4 separate regions of the Homo sapiens genome follow, and regions 1, 2 and 4 are each linked to region 3. Evidence: promoter capture Hi-C in 16 types of primary human blood cells and fetal thymus (Javierre and others, 2016). All regions are on one chromosome and are shown on one strand. The core of a region is centred on a gene start or on the middle of the fragment in contact, and the rest is flanking DNA. Distances in the headings are between cores, read along the strand shown. Region 1 holds the start of GLOD4 (glyoxalase domain containing 4). Region 2 holds the start of TLCD3A (TLC domain containing 3A). Region 3 overlaps DOC2B (double C2 domain beta). Region 4 holds the start of GEMIN4 (gem nuclear organelle associated protein 4).

Evidence for each region. The method cuts DNA at HindIII sites, captures the fragments that hold promoters and counts their contacts. A CHiCAGO score of 5 or more calls a contact.
Region 1: a contact is called between the fragment with the promoter of GLOD4 here and a fragment that was not itself captured in region 3, in 7 of 17 cell types (neutrophils, endothelial precursors, M0 macrophages and 4 more). The highest score is 12.7, in neutrophils.
Region 2: the fragment with the promoter of TLCD3A here is called in contact with a fragment that was not itself captured in region 3 in 2 of 17 cell types (neutrophils and monocytes); the score reaches 6.9 in neutrophils.
Region 4: a contact is called between the fragment with the promoter of GEMIN4 here and a fragment that was not itself captured in region 3, in 5 of 17 cell types (neutrophils, M0 macrophages, monocytes and 2 more). The highest score is 12.6, in neutrophils.

The regions. Positions count from the first base shown.
Region 1 is chr17:780,119-783,547 of GRCh38, forward strand. GLOD4 (glyoxalase domain containing 4) reads right to left here and starts at 2,162. Exons shown (of 9, transcript NM_016080.4): 1 at 2,048-2,162. The coding sequence starts at 2,137. MRM3 (mitochondrial rRNA methyltransferase 3) reads left to right here and starts at 2,235. Exons shown (of 4, transcript NM_018146.4): 1 at 2,235-2,574; 2 at 2,965-3,209. The coding sequence starts at 2,261. RefSeq lists enhancers at 1,093-1,192, 2,193-2,542, 2,214-2,762. The HindIII fragment of the contact is 3,821 bases long and covers 1-2,547 here.
Region 2 is chr17:730,417-733,883 of GRCh38, forward strand. TLCD3A (TLC domain containing 3A) reads left to right here and starts at 2,180. Exons shown (of 5, transcript NM_024792.3): 1 at 2,180-2,353; 2 at 2,682-2,765. The coding sequence starts at 2,232. LOC124903893 (a long non-coding RNA gene) reads right to left here and starts at 1,964. Exons shown (of 2, transcript XR_007065572.1): 1 at 1,763-1,964. RefSeq lists silencers at 1,657-2,136, 2,157-2,426, 2,497-2,596. The HindIII fragment of the contact is 13,049 bases long and covers 1-3,467 here.
Region 3 is chr17:150,229-153,878 of GRCh38, forward strand. All of the region lies in intron 6 of DOC2B (double C2 domain beta), which reads right to left. Among named protein-coding and RNA genes, the nearest start is that of SCGB1C2, 14 kb to the left of the region's middle. The HindIII fragment of the contact is 3,739 bases long and covers 1-3,650 here.
Region 4 is chr17:750,299-753,614 of GRCh38, forward strand. It overlaps GEMIN4 (gem nuclear organelle associated protein 4), which reads right to left and starts at 1,966. Exons shown (of 2, transcript NM_015721.3): 1 at 1,835-1,966. The coding sequence starts at 1,844. It also overlaps the pseudogene DBIL5P. RefSeq lists an enhancer at 1,246-1,305 and silencers at 1,486-1,905, 2,086-2,345. The HindIII fragment of the contact is 5,891 bases long and covers 1-3,272 here.

The DNA of each region.
Region 1 (3,429 bases), core at 912-3,411, 630 kb after region 3:
GCGCCACTGCACTCCAGCCTGGGCGAAAGAGCGAGACTCCGTCTCAACATAAAAAAAATAAAAAATAAAAAATAAAAAAATCCTTATTGATATCCTTCCTTAATAACACCAAAAAAGCACATGCCTAAAGCACAAAGCACTGATCCCATCACCACCCTGTTTAAGAACATAAGTGAGCTCCCATCTTACTGCAGCATAAAATCCAAATTCTTTAGCATAGCATTCAAGATACTATTAGAAGCAATGCCGACCTGTCCATCCTGATATCCCATCTCCTTAACTTCAACTAAGCAACCTCAACTAAAGGCACATAAAACCAGCGGCTTCGCAAACATGTGCCATCTCCGCACTGGCTCTTCAGTTTTACTATGTAGCTCCTCCTCTCATCTACCTGTGGATATCCTATCTTTAGACGTCAACTCGAATCCTGGCTAACACGGTGAAACCCCGTCTCTACTAAAAATATTTTTAAAAATTAGCCGGGTGTTGTGGTACGCGCCTGTGGTCCCAGCTACTCGGGAGGCTGAGGCAGGAGAATGGTGTGAACCCGGGAGGCTGAGCTTACAGTGAGCCGAGATCGCGCCACTGCACTCCAGCCTGGCGACAGAGCAAGACTCCACCTCAAAAAAAAAAAAAAAAAAAAAAGTCAACTCGAATACAAGGTCTACATGAATTATTTCCTCATCACCCAGGTTGGAAAACCGCTCCTTCTTTTGTATTTTTATAATAGTGGCTAACACTTATATAATCTACTATTACCGATATGTTAAATACTATACATATAATAAGGTGTTGAATCTTTTTTTTTTTTTTTTTTTTGAGACGGAGTTTTGCTTTCGTCATCCAGGCTGGAACACAATGGTGCGATCTCGGCTCACTGCAACCTCCGCCTCCCAGATACAGGCGATTCTCTTGCCTCAGCCTCCCGAGTAGCTGGGATTACAGGCGTGTGCCACCATGCCCGGCTAATTTTTGTATTTTTAGTAGAGACAGGGTTTCACCATGTTGGCCAGGCTGGTGTCCAACTCCTGACCTCCAGTGATCCACCCGCCTTGGCCTCCCAAAGTGCTGAGATTACAGGCGTGGGCCACCGCGCCGGCACGTGTTTAATCTTTGCAACAACCTTTTGATCGACGAGGAAATACTAACAAGGGACAGCTCTGTGGTTTCTGCTATCGAAAGTTTGGTGGTTTTTCACTATCAAATTCTGACTTCCATTACCATCATCTACGTACAAATCCAGTTCCAACTCCCACCCCAACCCAGGCCATGAGCTCTAATGGAGGATATATATCAGGGTCATTTGCACCTTTGTTGCCAAAACTCAACGTAGTACCCTGAAAATAGCAGATATTTTAAAAATGACCTGACGAATTCAGATCCCCGTCTATTGCACCGTCTATACACTAAACCGCGCTCTTGCACCTTTCAAGTCTTCCTTAGTGGTGTGTTCCCTACCTCCCTGGCTTATCAAAGGAGGTCCCCAAAACCCAGTTCCCCAACCAACTGAATCCTGCAAATAACAGCTCCTCAGGACCCGAGACAGACCGCTTCTGGGTGCTGTTGAAAAGCAGATGGGTTGAGAGTTGGAGCATATATTCAGAGACTGAGTATCCGAAACGGACTATTCAGACCAGCCTTGCTAGAAGCAGAACTCTGAATACGCTGATTTTATCTACATCAAAGGCTCCAAACCGGAAAACACAAATATTAACTAGAAAGCATTATATAACATTTTATTTACCGTCTTTTCCGGTAGACGGTAAGCTCCACAAGGGCGGGGCTCAATAAACGTTTACGAGTGGCTTAAATGAAAGGACGTGCGTGGGCACACCGCGGGGACTAATCGTGTTAGGCCCTTCTCCAAGGCCTATGATCCCCAACGGCAACTCGCCACGCTCCTGAAGCTGAACACCGCGCAGGGCCTAAGGTCGGACACCCTCCGGCTTAGGTTCACGACACACCCATTTTCCCCTCCCTCCGCCAGGGCCGGCTCGGGCGCCGGTTCCAGCCTCGCGCGCCAGCCCCTGTCGGCCCCGGCCTGCACCTTCATCCCCAGGACGTCCCGATAGAAACGCGCCGTCTGGAAGCGGTTTCCCACTTTGAATACGAAGTGCAGAGCTCTGCGAGCAGCCATGATTCCCGCCGCACGCAGCCGTCACGCGCACCGTACAGCCCAGTCCACGAAGGGCGCCACGGGCCGTGACGTCACTAGCCGCCGACGGCGCGCTTTCGTGACGCAGCCCGGGTCTCAGGGAACATGGCGGCGCTGGTGAGACCCGCGAGGTTTGTCGTGCGACCGTTGCTGCAGGTGGTCCAGGCTTGGGACCTTGACGCGAGGCGCTGGGTCCGGGCGCTGCGGCGGAGCCCAGTGAAAGTGGTGTTTCCTTCCGGAGAGGTGGTGGAACAGAAGCGCGCTCCTGGGAAGCAGCCCCGCAAGGCACCATCTGAGGCCAGTGCCCAGGAGCAACGAGAGAAACAACCGCTCGAGGAGTCCGCATCCCGCGCTCCCAGCACCTGGGAAGAGTCTGGGCTTCGCTACGATAAAGCTTATCCCGGGGACAGGAGGCTGAGGTGATGTGGTTCTTGAGCCTGTCGAATGTTCTCGTTTCCCTTCCCGTCGCACAGCGGAACCTTAACCTCCTTCCGATGGAGGACTTCTTCCAGTACAGCCCGCTGGTTTTTGTATTATGCACAGAGGGCCGAATAAGCGTCTTTGGAATTAGCTTCTGTTTCTCCTTAGCTCTTTGTTGTTGTTTTTGTTTCACCATGTTAGCCAGGCTGATCTGGAACTCCTGACCTCAGGTGATCCGCCCGCCTCGGCCTCCCAATGTGCTGGGATTACAGGCGTGAGCCACCGCGCCCGGCCCTCTCCGTAGCTCTTTATTTCTGTTACAACTAAGCGTGTCTCAGTAACAAGGATGTTGATAGTTACCTGTTTTTTTTTTTTATTTCCATCTACAGCAGTGTAATGACAATAGTAAAGTCCAGGCCATTTCGGGAAAAACAAGGGAAGATCCTGCTGGAAGGTCGCAGGCTCATTTCAGACGCTCTCAAGGCTGGAGCTGTGCCAAAAATGTTCTTCTTTAGCCGTCTAGAATACCTAAAGGAGTTGCCAGTCGATAAGCTGAAAGGTGTCAGCCTCATTAAGGTGAAATTTGAGGATATCAAGGATTGGTCCGACCTCGTAACGCCACAAGGAATAATGGGTTAGTGATTACCCAGTGTATCTTTTTTTTTTTTTGTCTTGTTCTGTCACCCAGGCTGGAGTGCAATGGCGCGATCTCGGCCCACTGCAACCTCCGCCTCTCGGGTTCAAGGGATTCTCTTGCCTCAGCCTCCGCAGTAGCTGGGATTACAGGCGTCTGCCACCATGCCCGGGTGATTTTTGTATTTTTAGTAGAGGTGGGGTTTCACCATGTTGGCCAG
Region 2 (3,467 bases), core at 930-3,429, 580 kb after region 3:
TTTCAACTCATAAAGATGCCTTACAGCTTCTTGTGTAGGGGAGACTGGTTCCCACCACTCAAAGGTGCCAGCATACTCACTGCCAAGCTGCTGCTCCCTTTAAGGAGGGAAGGCAGGGAGGACTTGTAACCACCTGTCACTCTCTGGAAACACTGGCGCTGGAGGTCACTGTGATAAATGCTTAGGAAAGAGACAGTGGACTGCACAGAGTCGTTTTCCTGGAGAGAATGGAGAGTTCACAGGTAGCTGGTTTTGTCCACAAGCGAATGTGAAAATAAAGAGAGCGTCGCATTTGTCAGATATCTTGGGACCAACCTGAAGTGGCTTTCTCCTTTCACTGAGTATGTCAGCAGTGAATTTGGGAGTTAGAGATGTTGCCCTAAGTGGACGAAGTTTGAGGCTTTTCTTGAGGCTGTCTGCCACCGTCCTGTTGGCTAAGTCCCTTTTCTTAACCACATATAGGAAGATGTTAGAGGCTACATTCATTCCAAAAGGTCACAGCCTAGTAACTGATACTACCACTGAAGGAAAACTATCTTTTAAACCTGAGAAACATCTTCAGACTCCATCATGAATGAATCCAAATTGAAAAAAACAAAAGCTGTGCTCACTCTACACCAGTTCCTACATCACTAACTGCCGTGTTAAAGTAATTTAACTGGCACCTAACAGAAATCATCTGCCACTTTGTAAAAGTCATAGACTCATAAGAATCTAGAGCTGGAAGACCGTTAAAGAGCTAGTGATCCAGCCTCCCTCTCATTTCACGGACCAGCAAATCGTGGCCCAGAGAGCCGAGCCCAGCTGTTCCGAAGTCCTCATACGGGATTTTGGTCAGCATTTTGCATGACGGTGATCTGAGGAGACCCGTCATACCTTTCATTTGTAGTAACATAAATGAACTGTATTTCCCACCCCCTACGTTTGTTAGCTGAGGAAGATACAGACCAAAGCAAAATAAAGCTGGTAGTTCCTAAAGGACAGAAGCCAATGATACTGAAATTCCTGTCTTCATCCATGTGATTGGTGCTTGGCACAAATGAAATGTATTCCAATTCATTCAAGTTTAGACGCCTGTCCCGATAACTGTTTTTTTGTTTGTTTGTTTGTTTGTTTTTTGAGACAGAGTCCTGCTCTGTGGCCCAGGCTGGAGTGCAGTGGCGTGATCTCGGCTCACTGCAACCTCTGCCTCCCAGGTTCAAGCGATTCTCCTGCCTCAGCCTCCAGAGTAGCTGGGACTACAGACAGGCACCACCACACCTGGCTAATTTTGTATTTTTAGTAGAGACGGGGTTTCACCGTGGTGGTCAGGCTGGTCTCGAACTCCTGACGTCAAGTGATCTGCCCGCCTCGGCCTCCCCAAGTGCTGGGGTTACAGGCGCGCCCGACCCCGATACTTTTAAATAACGACACGTTGTGAACAACACCACAGTCCCTACGCCTCTGGATGGTGTCTCCGGATAGATCCAAAGCCGAGAGGCAGTAAGAGCCTGCAGCCTCCACAGTCCGCCTCCTGGTGCAGGTGGAGAGGGGCTGCTGGAGGCCCCCGGACCTCACGCTTCCTGAGGGCCACCCCGGAGCGGCTGCAGCCGCTGGCGGCACCGGGAAAAGCATCTCGGCCGTGCGGGGAGAGGCCACATCCTGAGGCCTCCCACCGAGAAGCACCAGGGCTTGGTGGACGGGGCCCGCGAACCCAGGGCCACACGCCGCCTCCCTCCTTCCTTCCCCGCGGGCCTCGCCCCACCCCGGAGGGGGTTCCTACCTGGCTTCCTCGGCCCCGCGCCCACCCCGCCCCTTCGCCCGGGGCCGGCGAGAAGAGCAGGTCGGGGAGGGGCGCGTCCGCTGACGGAACAGAAGCCGGGAGCCGCGGCCCTTCCCGCCTCCGCCTGGGCCCCGCGGCCGCTCGGGAGGGAGCGGCGGACTCGGAACGCGCGCGCGCCGCGGCCCCGGCCACAGCCGCCGCCTCGGTCCCCGCCTCCGCCCCCGCCCACCCGCCCGCCGGGGACGCCGGGGAACCCTCCGGGCCCAGGGACCGCGAGAGACCCCGCCCCGCCCTATCGCAGCCGCCGGGCCTGGTCACGCGCAGAGCCGCGCCGCGGGATCGGGGCCAGCGCCGGGCGGAGGCGGGACGGGGACGGGGGCGGAGGGTTGAAATCGCGCGGCCGGGCCGGGGCGCGCCGAGCCGAACCCAGCCACGCGGCGCCAGCGAGGCGGCCGGACCCGCAGCCCCGATGCTGCTGACGCTGGCCGGGGGCGCGCTCTTCTTCCCGGGGCTCTTCGCGCTCTGCACCTGGGCGCTGCGCCGCTCCCAGCCCGGATGGAGCCGCACCGACTGCGTGATGATCAGCACCAGGTACCGGCGCCGCCGAGACGCCCCCCGAGGCCCGGGGCGCTGCCCACCGCACCCCACCCGGCCGCGGGGCCCAGGGCGGAAAAGGGGGGCGGCAGGAAGCCCGGGGGCTGCTCCCTCCGCGTCCCGGCGGCCCGAGTTTCCGAAGCCCCTCCGCGTCCTCCCCTGGCGGGAGCGGGGCCGGGGCGGGCGGGAATGGCCGATGAGCCTCCGGAGCCCGCTCCCCACATCTGCCTGCGGCTGGGGAGAGTCAGGCCGAAGGGCCGGGCCGGGCTCCCTGCGGTCCTCGGACCGGACTGAGCGCGCGCGCTGTTCTCTCCGCCCGCGCTAGGCTGGTTTCCTCGGTGCACGCCGTGCTGGCCACCGGCTCGGGGATCGTCATCATTCGCTCCTGCGACGACGTGATCACCGGCAGGTAAGAGCCCGGGCCGGGGCCTTGTTGCAAATGTCACATTTCAGTAGCTCGCAGGCTCTGGCTCTCGCAGCACACGCGCTCAGAAAGCTGACTAATGGGAAAAGCTGGCACCACAATGGGCTCCTTCTTCCTCTCCGGAGTCTTCGGGCACCCCCAGCTTAGGAGAAAGTCCACGGAAATGAGGGAGGACGACAGAGTCGGAGTCTGATTTCAGGTGGTGTGAGCCAGGGATCCAGGTCCTTCATGGAAGAGATAAGCGTGGAAGCATTTACGACTGGGAGTGTGGCTTGATTCTTGCAGTTGGCTTCACTGGGTTCTCACTCTGGAGCATCACTGGCTAACAGACGTCCAGTGTGGTTAGCAGAGCCCCCTCCATGGAAAGGAACCAACCCACCACCCCCTTCCACGCAAACGCCGCTCTTGCTTTTCCTGCAGATTTGCTAAAGGTGATTGAGAGGTTCCCAGCGCTTAGAACACGGACTTGTACGTCTATCAGAGGTCAGTCCAGAGGCAGGTCAGGAAATGTGCACCTATCTGCAGTTCCAGTGAAACAAATCATAAATTAAGACCAGAATAGTCGACTTTGTACAGTAGTTAGACCTGGACAATGGTGGTGCTTTTATTATTTCAAGCCTTTTTTTTCCCCACCGGTCTTGCTGGAATCACACTCACTTTCTCCCAAGTTGAAGGACCACAGTCGGA
Region 3 (3,650 bases), core at 600-3,099:
CATAGATAATTGCATGACAATTGCCTTGTCCCTGCTGAATGTGCTCTGGGGTCTCTGGGGTCTCACCCACGACCAACTCCCTGGGCCTGGCACCAGGGAGCTTAACAAACATCTGTCCAGCGAATACCTGCATCCCTAGAAGTGAAGCCACCGCCCAAAGACACGCCCATGTCCAGCTTAACCTGCATCCCTAGAAGTGAAGGCACCGCCCAAAGACACGCCCATGTCCAGCTTATTCTGCCCAGTTCCTCTCCAGAAAGGCTGCATGGTTGACACACAGTGCCTGCGACAAAGCTGAATGCTATCATTTAAAAACTCCTTGCTGGTTTGAGAGGCAGAAAATGATATCTCATAGTTGCTTTACTTTGCATATTTTAAAATTGTGACTTTCATGGCATAAATAATACTGGTTTATTACAGAAGCACTAGAAAATGCATGTGGACAAAAGTTGGGATTAGGAGAGAGAAATGAAGACATATGTCCACACAAAAACCTGTTCATTGCAGCTTTCTACCATCACCAAAAATTGCAAACAACCACACGCCCTTCAACTGGGGAACTCATCAACAACAAACTTGTGGTTTACCCACACAATGGAAGACCACTTAGCAACAAAAAGGACCAAACTCCTGGTACATGCAACTGACAGATGAATCTCAAACGCATTCCTCCGTGTGAAAGAAGCCGGACTCACAGGGCAACACACTATCTGACTGTTTCATGGGAAAGTCTGGAAACGGCAACACCATTGAGACAGAAAACAGGTGAGTGGTTGCCTGGGGCCAGGGAACTTTCTGGGGTCATATTCTCTGTGTTGATTCTGGTGGTGGAAACAAGACTGTCCCAGCCTGGGTGATACAGCGAGACCCCATCTCTACCAAAAAATTAAAAATTAGCTGGGCATGGTGGTGCATGCCTGTAGTCCCAGCTATTCACAGTGCTGAGGTGGGAAGATGCTTGAGCCCAGGAGTTCAAGGCTGCAATGAGCTATGATTGCGCCACTGCACTTTGGCCTGGACAACAGAGCAAAACCCTGTCTCTAAAAAAAGAAAAGAAAAGAAAAACTCACTGGATATGAATGATACAGGTTGAGGATCCATTATCTGAAATGCTTGGACCAGATGTTTTGAATTTTGGATTTTTTCATATTTTGTAATCTTTGCAGTATATTTACCAGTTCAGCATCCCTAACTCAAAAATTCAAAAATCTGAAATCCCAAACGCGCCAATAAGCATTCCCTTTGAGCGTCATGTCGGTGCTTGGAATGTTTGGGGTTTTGGATTTACAGCTTTGGGACGCTCAACCTGTACCTCAATAAACCTGATTTTAAAAAAGTTTGGGGGGATTCCCCTAAGCCCGCCACCCGGAGACAGCGGATTTCCTTAGTTACTTACTATGCTCCTTGGCCATTTCTCTAGGTATTGGTATATTGTGTCTGCTGTGAACTGTCCTTGGCCTGTTTGGTGACGGGTGAGGAGCAGGGACAGAAGGGTCCTGCGTGCCCTGCCTTCACAAGCCCCTGGAAGGAAAGTTGTTTTGGGATCTCTGCACCCTCAGCCTGGACAACTTGTGCCCATCTGGTGACCCCTCACTCAGCCACCAGACTTCCACGACAGGCTCCAGCCTCGGCACCTTCAGCCATGGACAGTTCCGCCAGCGTTGCCCTCTGTTCTGCTGTTTTCTCTACCAGAAGTGCCCTTCCCTCCTCACCTGACCACTCTGGGGAAATCCCTCAGCACCCTCCCTGAGCATACCCTACTCTGGCACAAGCCCACCCTGCAAAGCCCCTGAGGCCCGCCCTGTGGCGTCTCTCCCTCCCTTGCTGTCAGGACAGTGGTCCTGGCCACCGGGGCTCACGGAGCCGCCCTGTGCCGTGTACCTCTGAGCCCTCTGCACAGTGCCTTCTGCTTGCCTGTGGCTTTGAGAAGAAACCCCTTCTGGTTATACATAAGACAGCCAGAGAAGGGAGTTGCCCAGGGTGGCACAGCACGTTGCTGCCAGTTACTGCCATTTTCACGGGCATGAAATGGAGATAACAACAGGAGCGACCGCACAGGCTGCTGAGCGCGTCACACGCAGCCATCGCGCAGCTCAGGGATATTACGTGTAACTCGACATGTCAGCGATTGTCACAGGCACTGCTACTCCTGGGGTTTTCCATCAAACCCTCAAGAGCTGGGCCTGGGGTCAACTTCCGGCCTGGGGAAACTGGGGCAAGTATCACCAGAGATGAGCTTTATAAAAATAATGGTGCTAGCTGGGCATGGTGGCTTGCACCTGTAATCCCAGCACTTTGGGAGGCCGAGCTAGGAGGATCGTTTGAGTCCAGCAGTTTGAGACCAGCCTGGCCAATACGGCAAAACCCAGTCTCTACAAAAAATACAAAAAACAACTAGCCAGGCGTGGTGGTGCACACCTGTAGTCCCAGCTACTCAGGAGGCTGAGGGGGAAGGACTGCTTGAGCCCAGGAGTTTGAGGCTGCTGTGAGCTGTGATCGCATCACTGCATTCCAGCCCGGTGACAGAGTGAGTCACTGTCTCAAAAAAGAAAGGAAGAAATAAAGAAAACAAATAAAAATAATAGTGCAGACAAAAGGCCTTGACCCATCTAGCTTTGGCCCTCAGCATCAACCGCTAGATACGTCCCTCCCTTTCTTCTGGGGCACAGGTCACACTCTCTTCCAGGTCTAGGATGCAGCTGAGGGGTGCCCCTCTTACCATCTAATCTGTGCCCTTATTTCCTCTGCTTTAGTGAGGAAGAGGCCCCTGGTCCATGAAGGGGCCTTTCAGAGACGGGGACCCCTGAGGAGCCCCGAGCAGCAGCCGTCGTGTCTCACCCAGGGTGTCTGAAACAGATGTGGAGGTCTCGGGTGAGGCGTGGCTCAGATACAGGGAGTGGCCCACAGCTCGGCCTGTCTTTGAAAGGCCACGTGACCTGGCCCACGGCTGGCAGGTGGGACCCAGCTGCAGGGGTCCAGCAGCACCCACAGCAGCCACCTGTGGCAGGGAGGAGCTTGTGGTACAGTGGACAGGCCCTGCCCAGATGGCCCCCCGCCTGCCTGTGGAAGTTGACCAGACCATCTGTCACAGCAGGTAAGACTCTGCTTTCTGGGCAACCCAGCAGGTGACCCTGGAATTCCTGTCCATCTGGCAGGTGGGCATTGAAACTGGTTTAAAAATGTCACACCATAGGCCGGGCACAGTGGCTCACGCCTGTAATCCCAGCCCTTTGGGAGGCCAGGGTGGGTGGATCACTTGAGGTCAGGAGTTCAAGACCAGCCTGGCCAACATGGTGAAACCCCGTCTACTAAAAATACAAAAATTAGCCTGGCGTGGTGGCGCATGCCTGTAATCCCAGCTACTTGGGAAGCTGAGGGATGAGAACTGCTTGAACCTGGGAGGCAGACGTTGCAGTGAGCTGAGATCACGCCACTGCACTCCAGCCTGGGCAACAGAGTAAGACTCTGTCTCAAAAAAAAAAAAATCACACCATTTTGGCTTCAGATTGCATATCCTCCTGCAAGGATATATACGCGTGAAATTCAAGTCAATGACAAATCAGAAGAAAAAACATATATATACGCAAACCAGTATCCTACTGTGTGTGTCGTTTGTTGTGTTTTCGACAGCTGTCCGTGTTATAATAATT
Region 4 (3,316 bases), core at 716-3,215, 600 kb after region 3:
GTGATATATACCAGTCAAGCCCTTGCTAGTGGGTTGGCACTGCTATCTCCTGACCCCATCTCCCCGGGACGCTATGATGGATAAATGAGATAGAGCTACAGTAAGAATCCAGTTACAGAGTCTAATTAGGTGCTCAGTAAATGTTGGTTTCCCCAAACCTTTTCATGGTTGGCAAGACCAGAATCTTGTCACTATTCTTTGCCTCCCCCAGCTCAGAAACATCAAAGGATGTAGGTCTTTATCAGGTATGTTTCCTTTGGCCCAGAAACTAAAACGAGGGTGCAAACACTGCTCCCTATTCCTCATTCCTGAGTCATCTCCCCTTTCCCAGGAGTGAGAGATGCTACTCCTTCCTCAGTCTGTCATGCCCCCAAGAGCTCATATTCCCCATTTTCACAGGCCAGACACCAGCAGAGAAAACACTGACTCCAGGAGACTAAGGACCATCTTACCCCTCCCACCATTTATGGGAGCGGCAGCAGGCCAAGGGCTCAGCACTATGTAACCCACTTGTGGAGGCAATCCATCTCATCTCACAGTGGCTGAGACCGACTCCCAGGGAGGGTTACGCTGCGAAGGGGACCTCCCTGGGGGTTACCGCCCTTCTTTCTGGCTCAGGAGGCTCTCCCAGGGTCCCAAAATATAGTCCCTCCTGACGCTGTAAATTTAATTTTATTGCATTATTGGCTTAGTTGAGCAGATGTTTGGCCCTAAACACCTGCCTTCCAGGCGCATTAAGTACGCACAGTTTGAAGTAGTAAGTCCCAGGGCGGTTACTAGCTGGAAAATACTCCGGTACTCTATCATGGATGGTTAACTAGTGCTTGCCACAGCCCGCTTCTTAGGTTTATTAAGCACCTACTCCATGCCAGACACTGTGCTAGGTGGTACACAGGTAAGATCTCTTCTATTCACAATCACCTTTTGAGGACTAGTATTCCTGCTCTAGAGATAAGGACACTGAGGCGCAGAAACGATTTGCTGAGGGTGTCCCAGCCTGAATGTGGTGGGGCTGGGAAGCAATTACGGCTGAGGGGCTCCAAGCCCTTAGAGCTCTGCCATTCCGCTCCTGAAAAGCTGTCTGGGGGCGGGGACCAGACCATTTCCCCCCAGCCTACTACTGCTGACACATCTCGGGGTGCCTCACCCCCAGCTCTCCCAGAACAGCCTCCTGGTCTTAGCAGCGTGTGCCAAGATTTAGCAGGGAGCATCTAGTTCCTATGGGCTCCCTCCCAGACCTTGCCTGTAAGATTCTGAATCCGGACGCACGCAGGTTCACAAAGTGATACCTCAGGAGCGCAGCCGCCCCCACCGCGGGTGTGACCCGCGCAACCCCACAAGGGACACTGTACCTCGGCGATCTCAATGCAAAGTCGCCCAAAACTCAGTGGGGAGACACACTTCCATTCTCCCCGCTCTGTCGATGAGGAAACGTCATGAGCGTAAGACACTTGGAGCGTTAAGACACTTGCTCAAGAACGCAGCTGCCGTTCAGGAAATGAGGCCGTCGGGGCGCCCAGGGGTGCTCGGAGGGAGCCCGTTTCCCAAAGCACGTGCGCGAGCCCCGGGCGCTTCCAAGGGCTCTAACTTCACGTCTGCTCCGTGTTTTCAAGCGCAGGGGGCCGGAGGCGGCAAGACGCGGCCCAACGCGCGGCGGGACCCGGACCACCCCCCGCCAAGGCCACCCCGGGACCCCTAGACCCGCCCCGACGCGGGGGACGTTTCGGTCCGGGCCCGCGCGAGCGTGCGCGACAGGAGGAGACGCGACGGGGCAGCACCGCTCTGGTGGCGCATTGCTGGACGCAGCCCGGGGCCGGGGAGCCGCGGCACCCACCTAGGTCCATGGCGGCGACGCCGGCGGCTGCGCGGGGCTAACGCCCCCTCCCCTCCGAGAACTCGAACGCGGCGCGGGACGCACGGCACGATGGGAGACGCAGGAGCCACGGCGGCCGCGCTTAGGCCTGCTCACAACCTCCGCCCGGCCCCGCCCACAGCCTCCGCCGCGCACGCGCAGTCCTCACGAACGAGCGCGCCAAGCGCACAGCGCCGCCTTCCGGCAGAGCCCTCCCACCAGCCCTCAGGTACCCGGACGTCGCTCACTAGACCCCTCCGCACCGTCCCCTGCCCGGCCCCTCTTCCGGGGTCCCAGCGGGTCGGGCTCATGATTCCCCGGCCCCGCATTCACCCTCACCCGGTAACCCCGGGCGTGCCCCGCACACAGTTCACCCCCACCGAGCGCCTCCCCCGGGACGCCCACCACCCAGCGCGGCCGCACCACGCGAGGCTTCCACTCCCACCCGCCCAGCTCGCGCCACATACAGTCCCTCAACGCGCTCCTGCCGCGCCGCCCCCTCCAGACAGCAGCGTTCCGGATCCTAGACGCTTTTTGACGGCTGGTCCTCCCCAGAAAATGCGCCGTGTGAGCCCAAACATGGTGGGGTTTACGCTGGACCCCGAGCTTGCAATCTGTGCTTGACAAAACACAAACATCGCGTGCCTGTCTCCTCCCCCTGAGATCGAGTAGTAACAGCCACTCCAACTCTCCACCTCCAGCTTCTAGCACCAGGGACCGCCTCCACCACCCCATGTGCCAAGTGGAGTTCGAGCTGCGCGGCCCTCAAGCAGCTGAAGGGTCCCGTGAGCGATCAGGAGAAGCTGCTGGTCTACGGCTTGTACAAACAGGCCACCCAGGGCGACTGCGACATCCCCGGCCCTCCGGCCTCAGACGTGAGAGCCAGGGCCAAGTGGGAGGCTTGGAGCGCGAAAAAAGGGGCGTCCAAGATGGACGCCATGAGGGGCTACGCGGCCAAAGTGGAGGAGCTGACGAAGAAGGAAGTGGGGGGCGTGGAGCGCGAACAAAGGGGCGTGCAAGATGGACGCCATGAGGGGCTACGCGGCCAAAGTGGAGGAGCTGACGAAGAAGGAAGTGGGGGGCGTGGAGCGCGAACAAAGGGGCGTCCAAGATGGACGCCATGAGGGGCTACGCGGCCAAAGTGGAGGAGCTGACGAAGAAGGAAGTGGGGGGCGTGGAGCGCGAACAAAGGGGCGTCCAAGATGGACGCCATGAGGGGCTACGCGGCCAAAGTGGAGGAGCTGACGAAGAAGGAAGTGGGGGGCGTGGAGCGCGAACAAAGGGGCGTCCAAGATGGACGCCATGAGGGGCTACGCGGCCAGAGTGAGGAGATGAGGAAGAAGGAGGCTGGCTGAGGGCTCCTCGGGAATGGAAAGGGCTTCTTAGACCTTGATGGCTGAAATGTCCTGAAACTGTCGCAAGCTTAGCCGAGACATCAATAAATCACTTAAACTGCATGAGAGT